Regions from separate parts of the Homo sapiens genome. Here regions 2, 3, 4, 5, 6 and 7 are each linked to region 1. The links are contacts of gene promoters, found by promoter capture Hi-C in blood cells and fetal thymus (Javierre and others, 2016). All regions are on one chromosome and are shown on one strand. The core of a region is centred on a gene start or on the middle of the fragment in contact, and the rest is flanking DNA. Distances in the headings are between cores, read along the strand shown.

Region 1 (2,760 bases), core at 126-2,625:
AATAATAGGAAAACTTTCCATGACGATGTAATTACTGGAAACATTTGAAGTTTGTGTCTGTGTGTGTGTGTGTGTGTGTGTTTTTGCAGTTCCTTTTGTTCTAAGGGTATATCCCACTTGAGGTCTACAGTCAATTCCCAGGTTTTAATGTCACTTGAAATACTTTCTCCCAAGAGGATGTGCCACCAACTCAATATCTAGTTAGGTTTGACTTTTTTCATTTTGTTTTGAGTTTTAACGATTATATCTTAATATTTATCAACTATATATTTTGGAAATCTTTTCATACTTGCATGTAGAGATATTCTTCTTCTTTTTTTTACAGCTGTGTACTACTGCATTGTGTGAATGTACCATAGTTGAGGGTCCCCTATTGATGGACATTTGAGTTTTTTCTAATACACAAATTGTGCTGTGATAGGTGGCCTTGTGAATACATCTTTCCATTTCTGTCAGTGCATCTTTGGGATAAATTAGAAACTGTAATGCTAAATCAAAAGTAGCCAGTAGAATGTCTTTTTGCTTGAATAATCATAATATTTATCCTGTGCTCTAAGGGTGAAATGATGCCACCTCTTCCCCAAGTGCAGGGAATGAAGAGATGAGCCTTTGGCCCCTGATATGTCAACAATTATCTCTCCTAGAAGACCAACTGAGCTCTCTTACCAGTAGACTTTCTGGAAGAACATCCAAACATGTCCTGATAGAAACAAAGCCAGATCTTGTCTCAGAAGAAAAAAAAAAAAATAGGGGCAAAAATATTCTACACAGATCACAAAAGTTTTCTTAGGAAACCATGCTCCCCCTGGACAGCTCCCCAGGAAGGTAACCCTTGGCGTTGATCTTGCGATTGGAAGGGTGTTCATTTTTTAATTATGCTGACAGACATTCAGTGAGAACTGTACTTCCCGAGGGCTAGTGAGCAGGGGGAGGTTTTCCCTGTTGTGCTCAGGCAGGACGTTCCAGGGATCTGGGGAGGCCCTGACATAACTGCACGTTCACACGGCTGCCCCTCCCTCCTCCTCCCTCTGTCTTCTCCAAAACAAATGACCTCGCTGGGATCCTGTTTGCCTTTTACTGACTTCCTGGACCAAAGCAGTGTGCCTGTGAGTGCAACAGCTGATCCCTTTCGGAGTGGAGTTTCCTAGCTGGTGCCTGTCCTCTCTTGAGCCTTTGTTTCTTGAGTGAGCACTCACTGGGGCTGTGGCTCCATGAACTGGATTTCAGGAAACCAGCCAAGGCATTCTCTCTCTCTCTCCATTCCTAGAAAGGCAGAAAGCCTGGGAATGGGTTCGGCAGGAAGATCTCTGTACCTCAATCTCCATTGCTTTCAGCACCACTGGCTTTCTCCCCAGCTCAAGTGCAAAACCTGCCATCGTTGCTACCTGGGGTGCCTCAGACTCACCCAAGTCCCCCAGGCCAGAGGACATGCTCTCAAGCCTTGTTTCAGAAAGAGGGACCCAAAGGCTGTTAGGGAAGAGAACCAGGGTCCTCAAACCCAGGGTTTTCTCACCCACTGCCTCTGCTCTGGCTGTGGCCTGCCAGACCTCTCCTCTGATTTTCGCTTTCCTTCCTGCCAGTGCCTTTGTTTATCCGAGGCGCCAAGATCCCACTGTGAAGTCTGAAAGGAAGACCAGTGGTTCTCGCTTTTCCTCTAGATGCTGTGTCTCCCAATGTCATCTTCTTTCCTCTCAAAGACAATTGGACGTTGTTACAGATTTTCTTGGAATGAGGTGAGTGGACGTTGTTTTTCCCTAGGAATGTTCTCCTGTGCTTCAGAGACATATTTAGAAGGGCATAAGAACAAGAGGAATTAGTGTGGGTCCCTGCCACTGGCACCCCTCCAAGCTTGGCTTTACCCCTTCATGTCAACACCATTTCCTCCCAGGCTTTTCACAGCTTTACAGCCCATCTCAAGTCTTTAACTGCTAAGTGAGCTTTAAAGAAAAGAAAAATCTTCAAAGGCTCCACCAAAGGAAAGAACGGGGCACCTCACATTCGGCCTAAGACAGGAGTGAAAAGACAGGAGATTTGACATTCGCATGGCTGTTCTCTATCCCACCCACTTACAACTTTATACTTATCCTCCCGAAGTCTCAATCCAGCTTCAATTTTATCTGAAAAGGGTCATTTGGGATACAAAAAGCTGCTCCTCCAATGCCACCAAACAACTGCTGGTGCCCTCTATTAACCATCTGAGAAAGCCTAAACATCTCTCCAGCACAAGTAGACCAGGAATTCCCAGCCCCCATCCCATATAAAATCCAAACGATGACAGTAATTGAATGACACAGTGTATTCAATAACCCCACCGTACCTTCCTTCTCACTTCCAGGGGTGATCACATTGACATCTCACCTCATCCGTGGGCTGCCCACAGCCTGGCTATGTCCAGGACTTCTGGTCTCTCTCTCTCTCTCTCTCTAAAAGATAGGGTCTCGTTATGTTGCCCAGGATAGATGTGAACTCCTGGGCTCAAGCGACCCTCTCCTCTCAGCCTCCCAAGGAGTTGTGACTACAGTCTCACACCACCATGCCCAGCTAAGCTCACTGCACATGTCAATGTCTTATCTCCCGGCCCTTCCCTTCTTCCGTTTGTCCTCCCCTCCCCTGTTCTCACTATTCACCTTTCCTTCAGTTGCCCACCTACTTCCATGTTCGGAGGCCAGTGCTCTTTGGATCTGACATGTTGTGTGTGGGTCCCAATGGTTCATAGAAGGCCAGAGGGTCAGACACTTCTGCTCAGTAAGGGGAAGGATG
Region 2 (2,760 bases), core at 73-2,572, 1.8 Mb before region 1:
CAATTATGTGCCCATAACTAGTAATAATAGTCCTGAAATTGGAACCCTAGATCAACTTCCCATCTTCTTCGACCTTTCCTTTATCCCCCTTCATCAGATTTCATACTCTCTCCGAAGTCTCACCCCCTCTCTCATCCCAGATACTTTATTTCATACCTGTATTAGGTGAGATAACTGAATTTTTGAAACCACCACTGCAAAGCTGAAGATTAGATCTAAACTGTGGTGACACCACAAGCTACGGACCTTCCTGTGGCAGGTGGGGGTAATATTAATTACATATGCATGTATCAGAATGAATGAACTGATCTTCAGGAGTTAGCTATAACTTGAAAGCATTTGACATTATGAAAATATGAGTAGCATAGACCAGATTTACACATCAGGTTTATAGATTCTGGTTCAGAATTCTACTCCCCCATGAACTAAGCTCTTAAAGTGATATCAGCAACCCCCAAGTCATTATAGGTTTATGGATTTATAAAAACAATTACTGTAGATTTGTAATAGGTCAAAATATAGCTGTATGGCTGACCTTGAAGTTGGAAGGCACTCCACCAACATAAAACACTGTGTCCTCAGGGTCCAGGTCCAGCAGAGAGTCATCTCCCGAAAATTCCCCCTTTTTAATGAACTTTTCCTCTGCTGTGCTACTTAGACTCGGGACTGTTAAAAACACCTTTCCATGTTTTCCCACCCTATTGAGATAAATAATTTTCACTTGTTATTATATAATTCATAGAAAATACTTTTTAAATGTCAAAATGTTAATGCTCCCTCATCACAAAATGGGTAATTTTGTGACACTAATAAGCATTTACAAAATACCACAATCAATGAGAAAGAGAAGAAAGACATTCCATTTTGAAGTTAATTCATGGATTGACCAGGTAAAATCTAATAATCAGATCGTGATTTAGAAATGACTTTTTTTTTTCTTTCCTACTAAGGTGTTTGGGAAAGAATATAAGAATAATGGAAGAAAACGGAGCAAGAATAAAGGGAGGAAAATGCTATTTATAACATCCACAGGAAGACTGTGTATGTGTGTGTGTGTGTGCACGCACATGTGCACGTTCAACAGGTTTCTTGTGATATGTGCATATATGCCCTGTGTCATGGATTCACTGTACCTTTCAATCTTGACAATGCTGAAGTAAGCAGGCCAGGAACTGACGGGCTTGGAGTCCAGGGGAATCTCCACATCTTTAGTTCCCAAATTATAGACGTATACCAGATTATCATTTTTGATTGCAAGACCCATATACTCTTTTTTGGCCTGAAATATCAAGAAGTAAGAAGTCATTTAAATAAAATTCATAAGAATGAACATCATCTTTTTTAAAGGACAATCAGAAATCCAAATATTTGGGTATATACAAGTGACTTCTGGCCTGAATTATTATCCGAAGCTCCTGTGAGCAGGCAGTGTCTCTTCCTTTCCAGCCTCCCTGTGGCCACATCAGAGTCTGCTGGCCCCATCTTGCTCAGGCTCGTGGAAATTTGTTGGCTGCCAGGAATGGGCTAATTTTGTGAGGCTAACCCAGGAATATAATACAGCCTGACAGTACCGATCACTATGCATCTCTAAACAGGATTCAGCATCAAACAGAATAGGCTTCTGTCTTTCTGAAAGTCTTTGAGGTGTTTCATTCAGACTCATCAAAGTTAGTAGTGTGATGGTGATAGGAAACAATCCCCACAATATCCCACACAGAGAAGAAATGACTTGTCCTTTAGTCATTCTTTTAATTTTGCCATTAAAATGAGATCTTCTGAGTTACCAGAATGGGCATTGTTTTGGTTTGTTTGCCTAGGTGGCTTTATTTTAGGCAAGAGAAAAAGCAGCTTTCCTTGTAAATATTATTCCCTCCTTTCAAACTCATGTGCTTACGTTTTTGCTTCCGAGGTACAGGATAAACTGATCTGCAGTCTCGGTCAGTTCCGGCCGCTTCACAGGGGGTTTCATGTACAGGCTCAGAGACGTGAAGGCCTTTAAGTCATCCATACTGGTTCTCGAGTGCACTTCCACAGCTGACTGGCCATCAAACATCATGGAGACTTGGATCTGGAGTGACACAACGGTTTCATTAAAAGTGCTTTGCAGAAATGGGCAGAGTGCTTTCCCGTGCTTCCCTCATTCGTGACAGGGGCCTATAAACTCTCTTCACCTCCATACCTGTAGTTATTTACCACATCCTCCCCTAGTTGAAGAGAAGACTTAGGGCAGATTGTGACACAGTAGTTTAAAGTGGGGTGAAAGAAAGCAAAAAAAAAGTGGTGACTAAGTAGATCCAAGAATGAGGATAAATATGAATTCCACCATGAACAGTATACTTGGTTTGGGTGAACTAAACAACTTGCTCAAGTTGTCTGGTCAGTATACAATTCACAAGGCTCATACAATTTATACAAAACTAATTGTTTGGGAGAAGTAGAACTAATTTTGGTTACTAATACAGCTGGGACTTTGTCCCTAGGGTCCTCATAAAAGGGACATGGGGTGAGGCTGTGAGCAACATCCTTGCCCTTGTCTACACAGTTGGGAGGGGTCTGGACTAGCTTTGTAGTCTCAGACCAGGTGGGCTCTACCACTTCCTAACTATGTAACCTTGAGCAAGTCACTTAACCTTCAGTTTCCTCATCTGTGAAATGAGGATAATAAATTTGTTGTGAGCATGAAATACGATAACTATAAAGTGCTTTCCAGTGCCTGGTCCTACCATTATAATAACTGTAATAATGAGTTCATAAGGTGCC
Region 3 (2,760 bases), core at 137-2,636, 1.7 Mb before region 1:
TTACTACAATACTTTTCTGCTCTCTTCATAGCAACATATTTCAAAAAATGGAAGTTGTTTATATATGTTGTCTCTATTTTCTCTCACTTTATATTTCCTATTTTGACCTAGTCCTGTCTGATTTCTACTCCATTACTCTACCAAAAGAGAAGTTAATTACATCTAAGTTACTAAATCTAATGGACATCATTCAGTTTTCATCTGACCTTTCAGTTACCTTTCAGGTGACTGACTACTTCCTAAAAATCACCTTGTAACACAGGCTCTCTTGGTTTTTAATACAACCACAGACCTACGATTTTGCTTAAAGATCGTGCAACTGTGTAGACGGATGTTCCTGCAAACCCGTGAGTTTCAGCCTTGGCTGGCCCCTCAATGCTGCAAAGAGATTTGTTCTCCTAGTCACCCAAATAGTGATTCTAAACATTGTCATGATTCCTAAGCCAACATTTCCTTCACCCACCCCCATCTGATTGTAAACAGATCACTTTATTTTCTTTTTTATTTGGAGGTCATAAACTGTTAGTGGGGGACACTTCTTCCACACTTCTGATGTCTCCTTTATATGCAGGGAGCACAGTGAGTGAAACTCCAGACCTCTCTACCCCTTTCCTCACTCTACTCCTGTGAGAGGGGAGTGGTTGATTTTGTGGGTAAATTTGGGAAGAATAACTCTATAGGCTCTGCTCAACTCCACCCTTCTTTGTCCTGGGAGCAAGCTGCCAGCAGAAAGCCTGAGTTTTCCTGTGTTCCTCCATGTTAAAACTATTCTGGGCAGAACCCCCATCTAAGCCTTACGGTGTTGCCTGTCTGGGTGGGCACAGCTGCTTAATACTGGGACTGAATGTCAGCTACCCCACTTGGCTAAGAGACCTAAAGCCATGCCTGCTGCTTAGCTGCTTCAGAAATAAGGCAACCTCCTTGGTCTCTGTATTTACTATTTTATTTATGTTTCCACCTGTTTAGAACTTGGGTTCTGGAAAGGGTCACTATTTATTGGTTAACTCCCTCAGAGACTCCAAAACCAATGAACAGGTATTTCCCCAGCTTTTTGCAACCAGCCCCCAGCCCTTCCCCGCAAACTCTATAGATGTATTTATAGCTACACCTACACAAAAATTTCTCTCCAATTTTAAGAGGAAAATGTTCATTTTCTGTATAAAGCATGCTGCCCCATTGTCTTGGTAACCCCGTTATTCATTCTTGCTTTCTAGCTACTGACTCTTCTCAGATATAAACATGCTCAAGTATCTCCCGTCAAAAAACAAAACAAACAAACAAACAAACAAAAAACCTTATTCTTTCACTTTAGGCTCCCTTCTAGCTTTTTCTCTTGCTTTGACACAGTGCACTTTACAGAAATGTTTCTTGCCAAGATCACCAACACCTGGCCCCAAATCTCCAGATCCACTTGACATTTTCCCATCCTTATTTACTGGACCCATCTGTGGTTTGCTACAGTGTTGGCCACTGTCTTTGCTTAAAACTCTTTTCTTTTCCTAGCTTCTGTGACTATGCTATCTCCTGGGTCTCCTCTTTCCCTGACCAAGAAAGAGACCGTGAAACTTGGCATTTGACTCCCAGCCCTTTCCTCTCCCCTGAGTGATCTCACTTCTTTCTCTGAGGGCAGTCTTTGAGTATTCTAATCCATTCTCCACTGTCTTGCAGGAAAGGTAATCTTCCTATTAAGAAAATCTGACCATGTTATTTCCCTTCTCAGAATCAGCCAGTTGCTTTGCAGGAATGAGTCCAATTTCTAAGCATGACATCATCAGCTGACCGCTCTTCTCTCACCAATTTCATCAATTCTCATGACCCCCAACCTGCTATATCCCATGGTCTAATCTTGACCAACTGGTTGTTGTTTTAATGCTCCACAATTTTTTCTGGTCTCTTACCTCTGCAAATATTTTCCCTTTCTGGAATAATTTTCCTTTATTTTCTGTCTAATCTACCTGGAAAGCTCTACTCCTCCTTTCAAATTCAGCTCAAATATCACTTCCTTTTTGAGGCCATCCCTAACCTCCTCAGGATGAGTTAAGTGTTGCCATGTGTTTTTATTATTCATTCATGTGTCAAATGATTGTAATAATTTTAAGTGATTATTTAACTCATCACATCATACAATCCTAGGAGGCAGGAACTGAGTTTAACTTATTTTTGTAATCCCAGAATGTAGCACAAAGGGTTTGTAGTACAAAGGGTTTACTTTTATGGAGGCAGTATTAAACCTCTAGCCATTTTGGTTGGTCATCTGGGGAACAATACTTTGAAAAAAATGTTTTTAATTGTATAAGTGGAAAATAGACCATGGACATACCACTTTTACTCATTCATTCCATCAACAAATATTCCCTGTGTGCTCATTATGGACCAGGAACTCTTCTGGGGGTAGAATACCTTTGAACACAGTCTCCACTTTCAAGGAATTTACAGTTTAGTGGGAGAGATACAGGTAATAAACAAGTGATCAAACAAGCAAACAAGCTAATTTCAGGGAGTAAAAGATATTTTGAATAACATATGACAGGTGGGGTGGGATGAGGAGTGAGTGGGGTAAGGGGTTCATTTGGATGTCAGGGTCATAAGGACACCAGCCATTTGAAGATCTGAGGGCAGCAGGTGCAGAAATCCTGAGGCAGGAAATAAGTATGGTATATTTGAAAAATAGAGAGGAGTTTGTTGGGCTGGAGTGCAGTGAGTGAGAAAAGAGTTGGGTATGTGGTCAGAAAAGTGGGTCTGAGCTGGGTCATGTAGGGT
Region 4 (2,760 bases), core at 104-2,603, 1.7 Mb before region 1:
TATAGTTTATGCAAAAATACTCTTGTAGTTTTGGAAAACCTCTTTTTGCCAGATGGGAACTTGAAGAATTTTTCTGCTGTATCACACAGCTCACGAAGGAAAACATGCTATTTGAGCATAAGTTCTTATAAATGCCCTCTATGACTTCCACTGAAGCCACTTCTGGTAAATATTTCAACACCCATTTTCACTTAAGTTGTCAGTCCATTCATTAAAAATGGGAAATATGTAGCAAGTACTTTTCTGCTGGAAGACTTCTCAATCTTTCGCACAAGGCTCTATCATGCTTCAATGAAGAACAGTCTATTGGAGAATTCATTTCAGTTAAGGAAAAAAATAGTCTCCTGGGGGCTTAAACACAGACTTGCAAAGACCACAAGGGCAAAGCTTTCATTTTCATCAGCTATTGGGTTCAAACTTAAATTTCTTTTTTAAAAACTAATTTTGATCTATAGACCTGGTTATTTTAGGTTCTAAAATAGGCTAGGCAACAACTGTTTCATTCTCCTGGTTTATGTGGAACGAAGCCAAACATATGGCAAACTATACGATTACAGAGGAATTTGGATGTATGGGTTCCTCCTCTATGTATCATTTTCAATCCCACCGCCATTGGTCTACAGCAGGCAACCAGCTGCTGAGGGTGGTGGGGCAGGAGCCTCCGGGTGCACGTGCACACTCATGCATATGCCTTGGTGGACCCTTAAAATCAGAAGTAGTTTATATGAGTTGTTTCACAGGAAAAGCTGAAGGGTGAACAAAAGCACTTGATTAGCAGTTTGCTCCTATGTGGCTCAAACATCCGAAAAATATTTTATCTTCACCCAAGATGCAAATGCCCAGTGAAGTACGTGAAGTGTTATAGGTGCCCCAACTTACCACACAGTATCCTGAGCCGTCCAAACACTCGTTGGAATTGCCATTACAGTCGCAGGGCACACATTCTCCCGACAGGGTGTGAAAGAATCCAGCATTGCATTTCTGCAACAGACACACCAAACCATTTTGATTATTGAAAAGATTGATTTTGGTCAATATTTTCTGAGAAGAAATCAGAGAAAGTGATTATTAAACAATCTAAACATTTCTAAAATGAATATACTAAATGATACATACAAAACATACTAAAATAAACTATTTATACTACCATTCAGTGATAGATGATGTATATATAATCTTCTTTGTTACATAACTTTTTCCCTCCTTTCACTTTTCAGGAGAACAGAAATGCCTTTAACACTGTCTTATCATTGCAAGGAAGAATAAGAAGGTATTACGTAACAGTAAGGGAGAAAAAAATGCTAATGTTTTCTTCCAGTATAAGCAAAACAAAACAAGACCACAATTAAGTATTAGTCAGGGTGAGGTCATGCTCCCTATAAATAAAGAAAGACTTCTCGTTTCAGCAATCACTAGCTATAGGAGAGCAACTTAGCTATAGGATAGCAACTGAGTCTTTCATGAACTTCAGTTCTTAAAAGCATCTGTTTCTTCAGATGCTAACATGTTAAAGGGAGGGATAAGGAAGTTAATGAGTTCTTACACTTGTCAAGTCCTGTGTGGGTGCTGTTCATATATGTATTTCATTTGTCTTCAGAATGCTGCGAGGAACACATGACTTTCCCTTATCCTAGTGATGAGCTCATGAGATTGAGAGGTGCTAAGTGGCTTTTGGGGATGTTAAACTATCCTGTCATGCACCAATTGACCTGCACAATCATCAGCTGCCCTCCCCAGATATCATTAGTGTGCCATTTGAGACACATTATGAGATTGTTCCTGGTTTATGTGATTAGGCTGTGGATATGCATTTGATATTTCTTTGGAATGTCTCAGTGATGAAGGGCAGAAATGGCATTATGGGCCTGGAAATCCGCTCCCCGCCCATCAGACAAGTTTATGTCTAAAGAATTCCAGACAGATAAGAATCTGCTTTGTTTCCACAGACTTACAGAGTCCAAGATTTCACATCATACACCCCCATTGACCCATTGTAGTTTGCACTTCCCTGGCGACCAGGAAATTTTCATTATATCTGGCTGAAGTCCCTCTGATTGCTATGCAAACCTATTTCCCCTTGCTTTTTACTCTGTAAAGAAAGAGTCACTAAACACCATTCACAGTATTTAAAAAAAAACACACACATCAGTTCACACTTTAAAACTAAAATTTAATAAACCCCATTTGGAGGAAGTTTAATAAAGAATAACAACATTTGTCTATGAAAAAAAGGCAAGGAAATTCCACATTTCCAAGTTAGAGAAATAAGGCTAAGAGAAGATCAATTTATAATTTTTTAATGGAGAGTTGTGGTTGATGGTAAGCTTCTTAGTTTCCACTAGAAAACAAGAGAGGGAAGACACTAAGATTGCAGTAGGAAGCATTTAATTTAGACCATTTAATTTCACATTTTTAGTCTTTGCCGCAAAGTAAAACATACATGTTTTCATTGTGATGCAGTACACAGATTGGTATCTATATCTATATTGGTGTAGATATGGAGATAGATATAGATATCCATATATATGTGTCTCAGAGAAAAGATTCACAAAGTAATAATGTACCTAAAACTTCTCTATTGTATTTAAGAGTATATCCTGGTCATGACCCATAAAATTGATCTGATGACCCATGAATGTGTTGCAGTTTTGCATGACTGCAGGGTTTTCTTTATAAGAGTAGTGGGTAAGAGTAGTGACGGTCTTAATATTAGTTATCTTAGTAGCCTCTTAAATGGTGGTTTCTGAGCTCTCTAAATGA
Region 5 (2,760 bases), core at 76-2,575, 1.7 Mb before region 1:
ATTTCTTCCCCTAATTTCCCTTCCCTAAGATTTCATTTTTAGATTTTTGTGAAATACTATTTAATGTAAATATGTATTTTCTTTAACTTTTCATTTATAAATAGCATAATGTGTACATTTCTTTTGAGTAAAAATTTTGGAGGATAGTTTCAGAATTGCTTTACAATATACCATCATTTTGTAGCTTTGAAATTTTGCCCCCAGATAACTGTTGTGATCGAGATAGCTATTCTGTTACAGCACGTTTCTAAAAGTGAAGGTAAAGAACACAAACTAAAGTGAAAAGAAAATGACTGCAAAGGGAATGGCAATGTCTGGGGTGCAACAAATCTAGTATTCACACTGCCATTTTAATGACAACAAAATAATACACATTTATGAAAGGAAATGAATGGGGAAGGCTGAGAGTATTTGATTTAAAGCAATTCTGTTATCTGTCATTTGAAGAAAAAAATTGTGCTGATTTTAAAACAATACTTTCATTACAGATGTTTCCAGACCCCTTCCCTGATCCAAGGAAACAAAATACCATTCAGCAACAGCCCAGATTTAGAGATGGGACTTGTTCCAATATAAACATTTCTTAGCTAGACCTTCTCCATGAAAGTGCATAGTCAATTTTTCCATATACAGTGGGAAAGACAAAGCTTTTAGCTTAAAAGGCATTCTCACTCGCAGCACGGAGCTCCTGGAATGAGCAGCCAGGGACACCGTGGTTGACTATTGATGTCACGCCAAATGCTATCTTGACTTGTTCTTCAGAATTACACAACAGAATCGTATCAGAGCATACACATACCATGAGCAGAAAAGTAGGCACTGTTTTGGATTTCAGTATTTGGTATGGTCATTTATTCATTTTGTCTCTGCTTCATGTACCACTGGCTATCCAGGGCCCAGCCCAGGGGCTGGCACAAAATGCGTTTTCAACAAATAATTGTGGAATGCATAAACAATTTTTTTTGAGCACGAATTTTAAAAGGAACTTGCACAGGCAATTTGGGGAATCAGAAGATGAATCATGGACCCTTCTGGCCTTCAGGGGTTCAATGGGGGAAATTTAAGCTGTATCTGTAACTTACTAGAATATCTGGAAGAAAGTGCTAAGAGCTATAATATCATGAGAGGTACAAAGAAATGCTGAGTGAGCTAAGAAGAGCAAGAGATTACTTTTAACATAGGGAAGAGCGGGAATCAAAAATGGTTCTTTGGTAGATGTGCGGTTTGTGGAGGATTTTCTGAAAGGAGGAAAGCTGAGGCTGAAAGAAAGCATAGGGCAATTTTTAGTTTACTCCTCATAAGGTAGAGAGGCTAAACTTATATTCTGTCTGTTGTTTCATTGCTTCAAGCAGGCATCTTTCACTCCTGGTAATCTCTCTCAATAAAAACACCAATGAATTTACTTTTTTTCTACTTGCTGGGAATTTCTTTGGAAGGATTAGTTTAATATCAGCAATTAAATTTTGTGACATCTTCAGCAACCTTCTGGCTTACAGTATACTCACATGGACACGCCACCCTCTCTCCACACATTGTAGATAATATTGGAGGCTTGCCCTAGTTCCTGAAATAAGTGTTAGGCACATCTGGAAGCCTTGTTAATCCTTTGGGGCCACCAGGATCCCATGAGTCACTCTCATGTGGCTTGAAAGTTAGGAATCTTGGAAGCAGTAATAATTTTCAAGTTATAACTTATACATAGGAAGAACGTCATTCAACTATAAAAACAAATTTTTTTTTTTATTTTTCATTCTGCCGTTTGATGCATTTTACCCAAAATGAGCTAAGCAAGATAATAAGAGGAACACTTGGTTTTGTGATTCTCTGAGTAACTGCGAGACTGGTTTAATGAACTTAGAACCTATCAAGAATGAAAACAAGAACCTGGTGCACCTGGTTTTTCAATACTCTACTGTCATCGGTATATGACAGTAGGTTTATGTCATAGGTTTATGACAGCTACTCAGTGACTAGCTGAGATATAGCACATAAAGTATTCTTATAAAGCTTTGACTACATTTTAGTATATTTTTTCTTTTTTGAAATTTGTTAATTTCTGGATGATTTGAACTAACTCAAAGGAAATTCATGCTGATTCATGACTTTGAGGAGAAAGCGCATTTTCTAGATAAACATGAGCTTGTGTTAGCAGATTAAAAAAAAAAAGAGATTGTAATCAAAAGAAAACCAACGTAGTTTAGATAATCTCAGATGAAGATCTAATGTCATAACTAAAAAACAGATCCAACACGTAGCTTTCAACATAACTGAATGGAAGAGAAGACAAAAAATGTGCTAAGAAAAAAATAACAGAATGCTTATTTCCACCGAACACTTTGATATACTGCATGTCCAAAAACATAGGGCACAGGAAAAATGTGCTTCATCTGCCAAAGTAACCACAAATACTGTTTGAGACCAGGAAGAGCCCAGCCCTTTAATAAAAACCTAGAAGTTTGGAGAACCTTACAAATATCTTTGGATATCCAAATATCTTCGGATATCCAAATATCTTCGGATAATACTCATAAAGATGATTACTCTGACCTTACACAGACATCAGCTTCATCTTAAATACAGTATTATTCTCACCATACTGAGGATCCTCCTGACATCAAAGACTAGGGTGAGAATGAGGCGTGAAAGTGCCCACCATTTTGAAAATGGACCATGGAATGGGCAGGGTTAGAACTGTCCTGCCTCCCAAAAACCTTCCTATTTTGCAGACCATGTGGGGCTGCCCCAAACCCCTGAAATACC
Region 6 (2,760 bases), core at 133-2,632, 1.6 Mb before region 1:
GTCTCTACTAAAAATACAAAATTTAGCCAGGCATGGTGGGAGGCGCCTGTAGTCCCAGCTACTCGGGAGGCTGAGGCAGGAGAATTGCTTGAACCCGGGAGGTGGAGGTTGCAGTGAGCAGAGATTTTACCACTGACTCCAGCCTGGGTGACAGAGAAAGACTCCAGCTCAAAAAAAAAAAAAAAAAAAAAAAAAAAAATTGTCTCATTTAATTTCATCTTTATGATAATCTCATGAAGTAGGGATTGTCATACACATTTGGCCATGGGTAAGTGGTAAAATTACTACTATAGCCCAGGTAAATCTGATGGTAAGATCTTTGATTTTAAATGATAAAATTGTATGATACAAAAGAACCAAAGCCAAAGGAAGCAAAAATAATTCCTATAGGTTTTAAAGTGATATTTTGATTTTAAAATATTAAAATAGTATTGCAAGGGACTATTAAGCTAAATTATGATACTCTTCTTTTACATAGACTTGTTAACCTACTAAATTAAGTGGGAGAAGTTAAAAACATGTTTGGTTTAGTTGAGAGACTGATATTGGGAAAAAAGATAGCCAGACTCTGAGACAAAACAGATTATGCTCAGTTATACTGACCCAGTCACCCTTTAAAAGAACATTAAATAATAATAATATTAATTATATATGATGTATATTAAATATTCTGACTTCAGATACAGATCTCTTCAGCTCACCAAAACTCATATATTTGTTTTCTGAAGGATTTCATCTTGTTCTTTACTAGCTGCCAATTAATCACACACTTTTTAATTTAATCTGGGCCCTCTTCTGTCTGCCTGCCCAGTGCTGGTAGGAGTGTATTCGTCCAAGACCTATGGACTTCTTATTTTTGGTTAAATATGTGCTCCCAGCTCTTCCTCTTCATCTTCTTTCTGTGGGTACTATTATTGTTTTTGAGACAAAATGGCATAATATGCAGGGGGATGGGTTTTGTATAAAATAAAACAGGGTTCAAATCCTGGGTCTGCATGTAGTACTTTTGGGAGCTTGGCATGTAACTTAGTCCCTCTGAAAGTTTCCTTCCCTGTAAAATGGGCATAATGATGCCTTTTTGTCATAGGCATTTCAACTAGAGCAATTCCATCTTGAATAGGGGCTGGGTAAAATAGGACTGAGACCTACTGGGCTGCGTTTGGAGGAGGTTAGGCATTCTAACTCACTGGATGAGACAGGAGATCAGCATAAGATACAGGTCACAAAGACCTTGCTGATAAAACAGCATGCGGTAAAGAAGGCAGTCAAATCCCAACAAAACCAAGGTGGTGACCTTGGTCGGACTCACTGCTCATTATACGTGAATTATATTGCGCTAACATGCTAAAATACACTCCCACCAGCACCATGACAGCTTATAAATGCCATGGCAACATCAGGGAGTTACCCTATATGGTCTAAAAAAGGGAGGAACCCTTAGGTTCCCAGAAATTGCCGACTCCTTTCCCAGGAAACTCATGAATAATCCACACCCTGTTTAGCATATAATCAAGAAATAACCATAAAGATAGGCAATCAGCAGCCCTTGAGGCTGCTCTGCCTGTGGAGTAGCCATTCTTTTATTCCTTTACTTTCTGAATAAACTTGGCTTTACTTAACTCTATGGACTCGCCTGGAATTTTTTGTTGCGTGAGATCCAAGAACCTTCTCTTGGGGTCTGGATTGAAACCTCTTTCTGGTAACATTTTCACTGAATTATTATGGGTAGTAAATGAAAGAATATAAATAAACATTAACACAGACTAGCATGTAGTCAGAGCTCAATAAATACTATTTAATTATACAATAAGCCCCCATTTAACATTATCTATATGTTCTTGGAAACTGCAACTTTAAGCAAAACAACATACAATGAAGCCAATTTTACCTTAGGCTAATTGACATAATTAAGATTTATTTAAATTCCTATGACATAGTTCTGGTCACAAAAACATCACTAAACTTCTAAAGAAAGACCAAAATGCTTCTAATGGTAAATATGAAAATAAATGTGAGCTATACGTACATTTCAGAAAGATTAATAGAAACAAGTGTGAGAATTATTTACCCAATGTTTGGTGAATCAGTGAGTGACAGCAGTCATAGTGGTGGTGGGTTAAAGCAAGGAATAAATGTTTTAAAGCAAAAATTATAAGCACCTCCTACCACCATGCAATTCAAAAAAACCCAACAACAAATATGATGGGCTCGCTGAACGCTTCCATGCAGCATCATTTATTGTCATATGCCTGTATGATTATTGTAGACTTCATGAATTTTTATTTGATAACAATTTTTGTTCATTATTCAATCATTTTCCAACCTGCTTTTTCCAACTCAGAGTGTTGGGTGGCTGGAGCCCATACTGGCAGCTCAGAGTTCAAGCTGGGGACCCTGGACAGAAGGCCATTCCATTGCCGGGCACGCTCACACACACACAGCCACACTCACTAAGACTGGAACCATGCAGACGTACCAAGGAACGAGGATATCTTTGAGATGTGGGAGGAAACTGAAGTACCTGGAGAAAACTCACGTGAGAACTTGCAAATTCCACACAGACAGTGGCTCCAGCCAGGAATTGATTTTTTTTTTTTTCTCACCAATATTATGACAAAGCAACATTGAAAGAAACAATGTTATTCTGGGACCTGCCTTACTATATTTTCAAATCTTAAAGAAGAACAAAATGACTATTGTAAAAGAGGAAAGGCAACCATTTTATTTATCCTGGTGTAGGTAACCTCCCATGTTTGAGAA
Region 7 (2,760 bases), core at 108-2,607, 1.6 Mb before region 1:
AGTGACAAAGGCTGGATTTGAACTCTGGCAGTGCAGAGCATATCCTGTTAGCCACAATGTACAATGCTGGTGTTGACTGACAGCTTGTGTTTCGCCTCCATCTCTCTTGATGTCTTTGTTCTTTGTACTCAGTCAATAAACTTCTTTTTTTTTTTTTTTTGAGATGGAGTCTCACTCCATCGCCGAGGCTGGAGTGCAGTGGCGTGATCTCGGCTCACTGCAACCTCCACCTCCCCGGTTCAAGTGATTCTTGTGCCTCAGCCTCTCGAATAGCTGGAATGACAGGCATGCACCACCATGCCTGGCTAATTTTTGTATTTTTGGTAGAGATGGGGTTTCACCATGTTGGCCAGGCTGGTCTCAAACTCCTGTCAGTCAATGAACTTCTTTTTGCCTTACTCTCCCCATTAGAAAATGTTATCTCTCTGCTTCTCGGAAAAGAGAATGGATTAACATAATACAGGAGATAGTGTTTAATATAGGAGACAGCAATAAAAAAATCTGGAAAATGTATTTCAACTGAAATCCAGAGAAGGTAGTGGCTTGCCACTTGGCAATGGAACTGGAATTAGACTCAAGTCTCTACCTCTCACTACTCACCATGGAGGCTCTTGTACAGAACATACTTCCGTCGTAATAAAGTATGGACTGGTATAGTAGAGTAAGTGAGGAGTGTAGAGAAGAATTTCTATTTGTGTTCAGTTAAGGTTTGATTTAAACCAGTGTTCGTACCTTAATTTGAAAAAGTAAATGTAATTTAAATATTTCTTTTTTCTTGTAAATAAATGTATATTTGTTCGCATCAAAACAAATTTCAAGTTGCACTGCAAAAGGGAAGAGTAAACTTCTGTAACTCACATCATTGTTTTTTTAAAGAGCCATTTAATAAATAGTCTATATTTCAGTTCAGTATTATTTATGTTTTCAATATGTCCTTCTATAAAGTGTATGAATCAGTTGTTGTTAGTTCAGACAAGATTAAAACCTTTACTCCCACATGAAGAATGAAATGTCAATTTTTCTTTTGATATTTAGATGTTGCTTACAGAATTATAGTGGCTAACTGGAGTTCCATCCATAGTCAAGGTCATTTCATTTTTGAAACCCTCAGGAAACACATTGTATTATTGTTCTTGAACCACTTGAACATTATAGGTTGACTGACTTCAAAAACTGTATCATGGGTAAAAAGCATAAAGTTGTATTCTTATGCTTTTTTTTTCAAGTAATCCTAGATTTTAAAATGATAGCTTCAATTTTGTATGACAAAAGCTTCCCCAAACACTAAACCTTTTAAATAAATGACATTCTTTATTATTTTCTCTTTTATTCCCTACGGGTAATTGTGAAATCTCACAGTATCTTCTGTTAGCTCTGCTTTTGCCTAACCCACACTAAGAATTTCCTTTTTTTTTTTTTTCTCATTGCACAATTATTCCTCCCTAAGCTTTTGGGCTACAAAGGTAACTTGAAAGTCAAGAGACACAACTGTCCTGGTCAGATTTCTGTCAGCCTTCTGAGCCTTCTCACCTCCAACCCTTTGGCTTCTCAGTCTCCTTGATCCTAATGAGGAAAGAAAGAAAGGAAATAATATCTCTTTTCTACCATAACTTCTGCTCAAGATGCCACACTATGCTTCTGGTTTCTTTTCACCTTCACATTCTTAGAAGGAGGGGTGACATTTGTTACCTTAGTGTCCTCATCTCTTTTGGTCCTTTGGAAATTTTTTTATTTTTTATGACAGCAGCACCCCATTCTCACAACTCTCTGCTATGTTTACTTTCTAGACACTACTCATATCTGGTTGTCTTCTTAGCTCTTGAACTACTTTTTTTCCTCCCTGTATCCTTTGCTAGTACCTCTTTCCCTGCCCAAATCTTAAATGTTATCTGAATTTCCAACCTATTTGTTGTTCTTTTCATCAGCTTTGCAAGTCCCCCTGAGTGATGTCACCCAATCTCTTGGCTTGAGCGCCACCATTTTCTCTACAATTCCTGCCTCCAGCTTGATCTTCTCATCTAGGCACCAGACACAGACTTCCAAATAAGTGTGGAACTGCTTTAGCTGGAAGACCTGAAGCACCTCAAACTCAGCACAGCCAGAGCTAAAACCATTATCTTCTTTCTAAAGCCTGTCTTTTGATTTGTGCTTTTTATGGACATTGGTAAATGTTCTCACTGTTGACAGGTCTATTGCATCTTAAAACATCAGAGTCCTTCAAGTCTTCCTTCTACCTCACTCTAATATTTAATCATTTCAGGGATTCTTTTCCCAAATCTTAAGAAAACTTCAGACACACCGAAATTGAGGGATGTTCTACAAAATATCTGACACTCCTAAAGAGTGTCAAAGCCAGTAAAAACAAGAAAGATTGAGTAACTTTCACAGATTGAAGATGACTAAGGAGGCACGATGAATACAAGCAAGGTCATACCCTGGACCAGATCCCTTGAAAGTAAAGGACATTAGTGGTCAAATGTGAACGAAATCTGTAGTTCGTTAATGGTAATGTGCCAATGTTAATTTCAGTTTTTTACAAATGTTCTGTGGGTCTAGCAGATATAAAGATTAGGGAAAGCTGGGTGAAAGGCATAAGGAAACTCTATGCTATCTTAGCTACATTTCTACAAATCAACAATTTTTCTAAAACAACAACTAAAAAGCAAAACAAAAAGCATGGCTTCCCACTGTTTATGCGGTGTTTCTCAACTTATTTTGAAAAACTCATCTGGATTTTTTTTTTTTTTAATATATGTGGCT

What was found. Contacts are between HindIII fragments. The CHiCAGO score rates a contact against its expected background, and 5 or more counts as called.
Region 2: a contact is called between a fragment that was not itself captured here and the fragment with the promoter of LINC02880 in region 1, in 4 of 17 cell types (total B cells, naive B cells, total CD8 T cells and 1 more). The highest score is 7.8, in total B cells.
Region 3: a fragment that was not itself captured here is called in contact with the fragment with the promoter of LINC02880 in region 1 in 8 of 17 cell types (total B cells, naive B cells, non-activated CD4 T cells and 5 more); the score reaches 18.9 in total B cells.
Region 4: a contact is called between a fragment that was not itself captured here and the fragment with the promoter of LINC02880 in region 1, in 9 of 17 cell types (naive B cells, naive CD8 T cells, total B cells and 6 more). The highest score is 14.6, in naive B cells.
Region 5: a fragment that was not itself captured here is called in contact with the fragment with the promoter of LINC02880 in region 1 in 2 of 17 cell types (naive B cells and total B cells); the score reaches 6.5 in naive B cells.
Region 6: a fragment that was not itself captured here is called in contact with the fragment with the promoter of LINC02880 in region 1 in 4 of 17 cell types (total B cells, total CD4 T cells, naive B cells and 1 more); the score reaches 9.6 in total B cells.
Region 7: a contact is called between a fragment that was not itself captured here and the fragment with the promoter of LINC02880 in region 1, in 3 of 17 cell types (total B cells, naive B cells and megakaryocytes). The highest score is 9.1, in total B cells.

The regions. Positions count from the first base shown.
Region 1 is chr6:113,903,012-113,905,771 of GRCh38, forward strand. It overlaps LINC02880 (long intergenic non-protein coding RNA 2880), which reads left to right and starts at 1,376. Exons shown (of 4, transcript NR_027060.1): 1 at 1,376-1,733. The HindIII fragment of the contact is 3,143 bases long and covers 1-1,846 here.
Region 2 is chr6:112,140,225-112,142,984 of GRCh38, forward strand. It overlaps LAMA4 (laminin subunit alpha 4), which reads right to left. Exons shown (of 39, transcript NM_001105206.3): 20 at 1,895-2,068; 21 at 1,134-1,279; 22 at 536-698. All of the region lies in intron 1 of LOC107986633 (a long non-coding RNA gene), which reads left to right. Among named protein-coding and RNA genes, the nearest start is that of FAM229B, 54 kb to the left of the region's middle. RefSeq lists an enhancer at 592-1,791. The HindIII fragment of the contact is 5,539 bases long and covers 1-2,760 here.
Region 3 is chr6:112,159,177-112,161,936 of GRCh38, forward strand. The region is part of intron 13 of LAMA4 (laminin subunit alpha 4); the gene reads right to left. Among named protein-coding and RNA genes, the nearest start is that of FAM229B, 73 kb to the left of the region's middle. The HindIII fragment of the contact is 6,360 bases long and covers 1-2,760 here.
Region 4 is chr6:112,215,489-112,218,248 of GRCh38, forward strand. LAMA4 (laminin subunit alpha 4) reads right to left here. Exons shown (of 39, transcript NM_001105206.3): 3 at 880-981. Among named protein-coding and RNA genes, the nearest start is that of LAMA4-AS1, 20 kb to the right of the region's middle. The HindIII fragment of the contact is 1,937 bases long and covers 386-2,322 here.
Region 5 is chr6:112,232,426-112,235,185 of GRCh38, forward strand. All of the region lies in intron 2 of LAMA4 (laminin subunit alpha 4), which reads right to left. Among named protein-coding and RNA genes, the nearest start is that of LAMA4-AS1, 2.8 kb to the right of the region's middle. The HindIII fragment of the contact is 1,360 bases long and covers 646-2,005 here.
Region 6 is chr6:112,256,017-112,258,776 of GRCh38, forward strand. The region is part of intron 2 of LAMA4-AS1 (LAMA4 antisense RNA 1); the gene reads left to right. Among named protein-coding and RNA genes, the nearest start is that of LAMA4, 2.8 kb to the left of the region's middle. The HindIII fragment of the contact is 3,914 bases long and covers 1-2,760 here.
Region 7 is chr6:112,290,159-112,292,918 of GRCh38, forward strand. The region is part of intron 2 of LAMA4-AS1 (LAMA4 antisense RNA 1); the gene reads left to right. All of the region lies in intron 1 of LOC107986632 (a long non-coding RNA gene), which reads right to left. Among named protein-coding and RNA genes, the nearest start is that of LAMA4, 37 kb to the left of the region's middle. The HindIII fragment of the contact is 175 bases long and covers 1,271-1,445 here.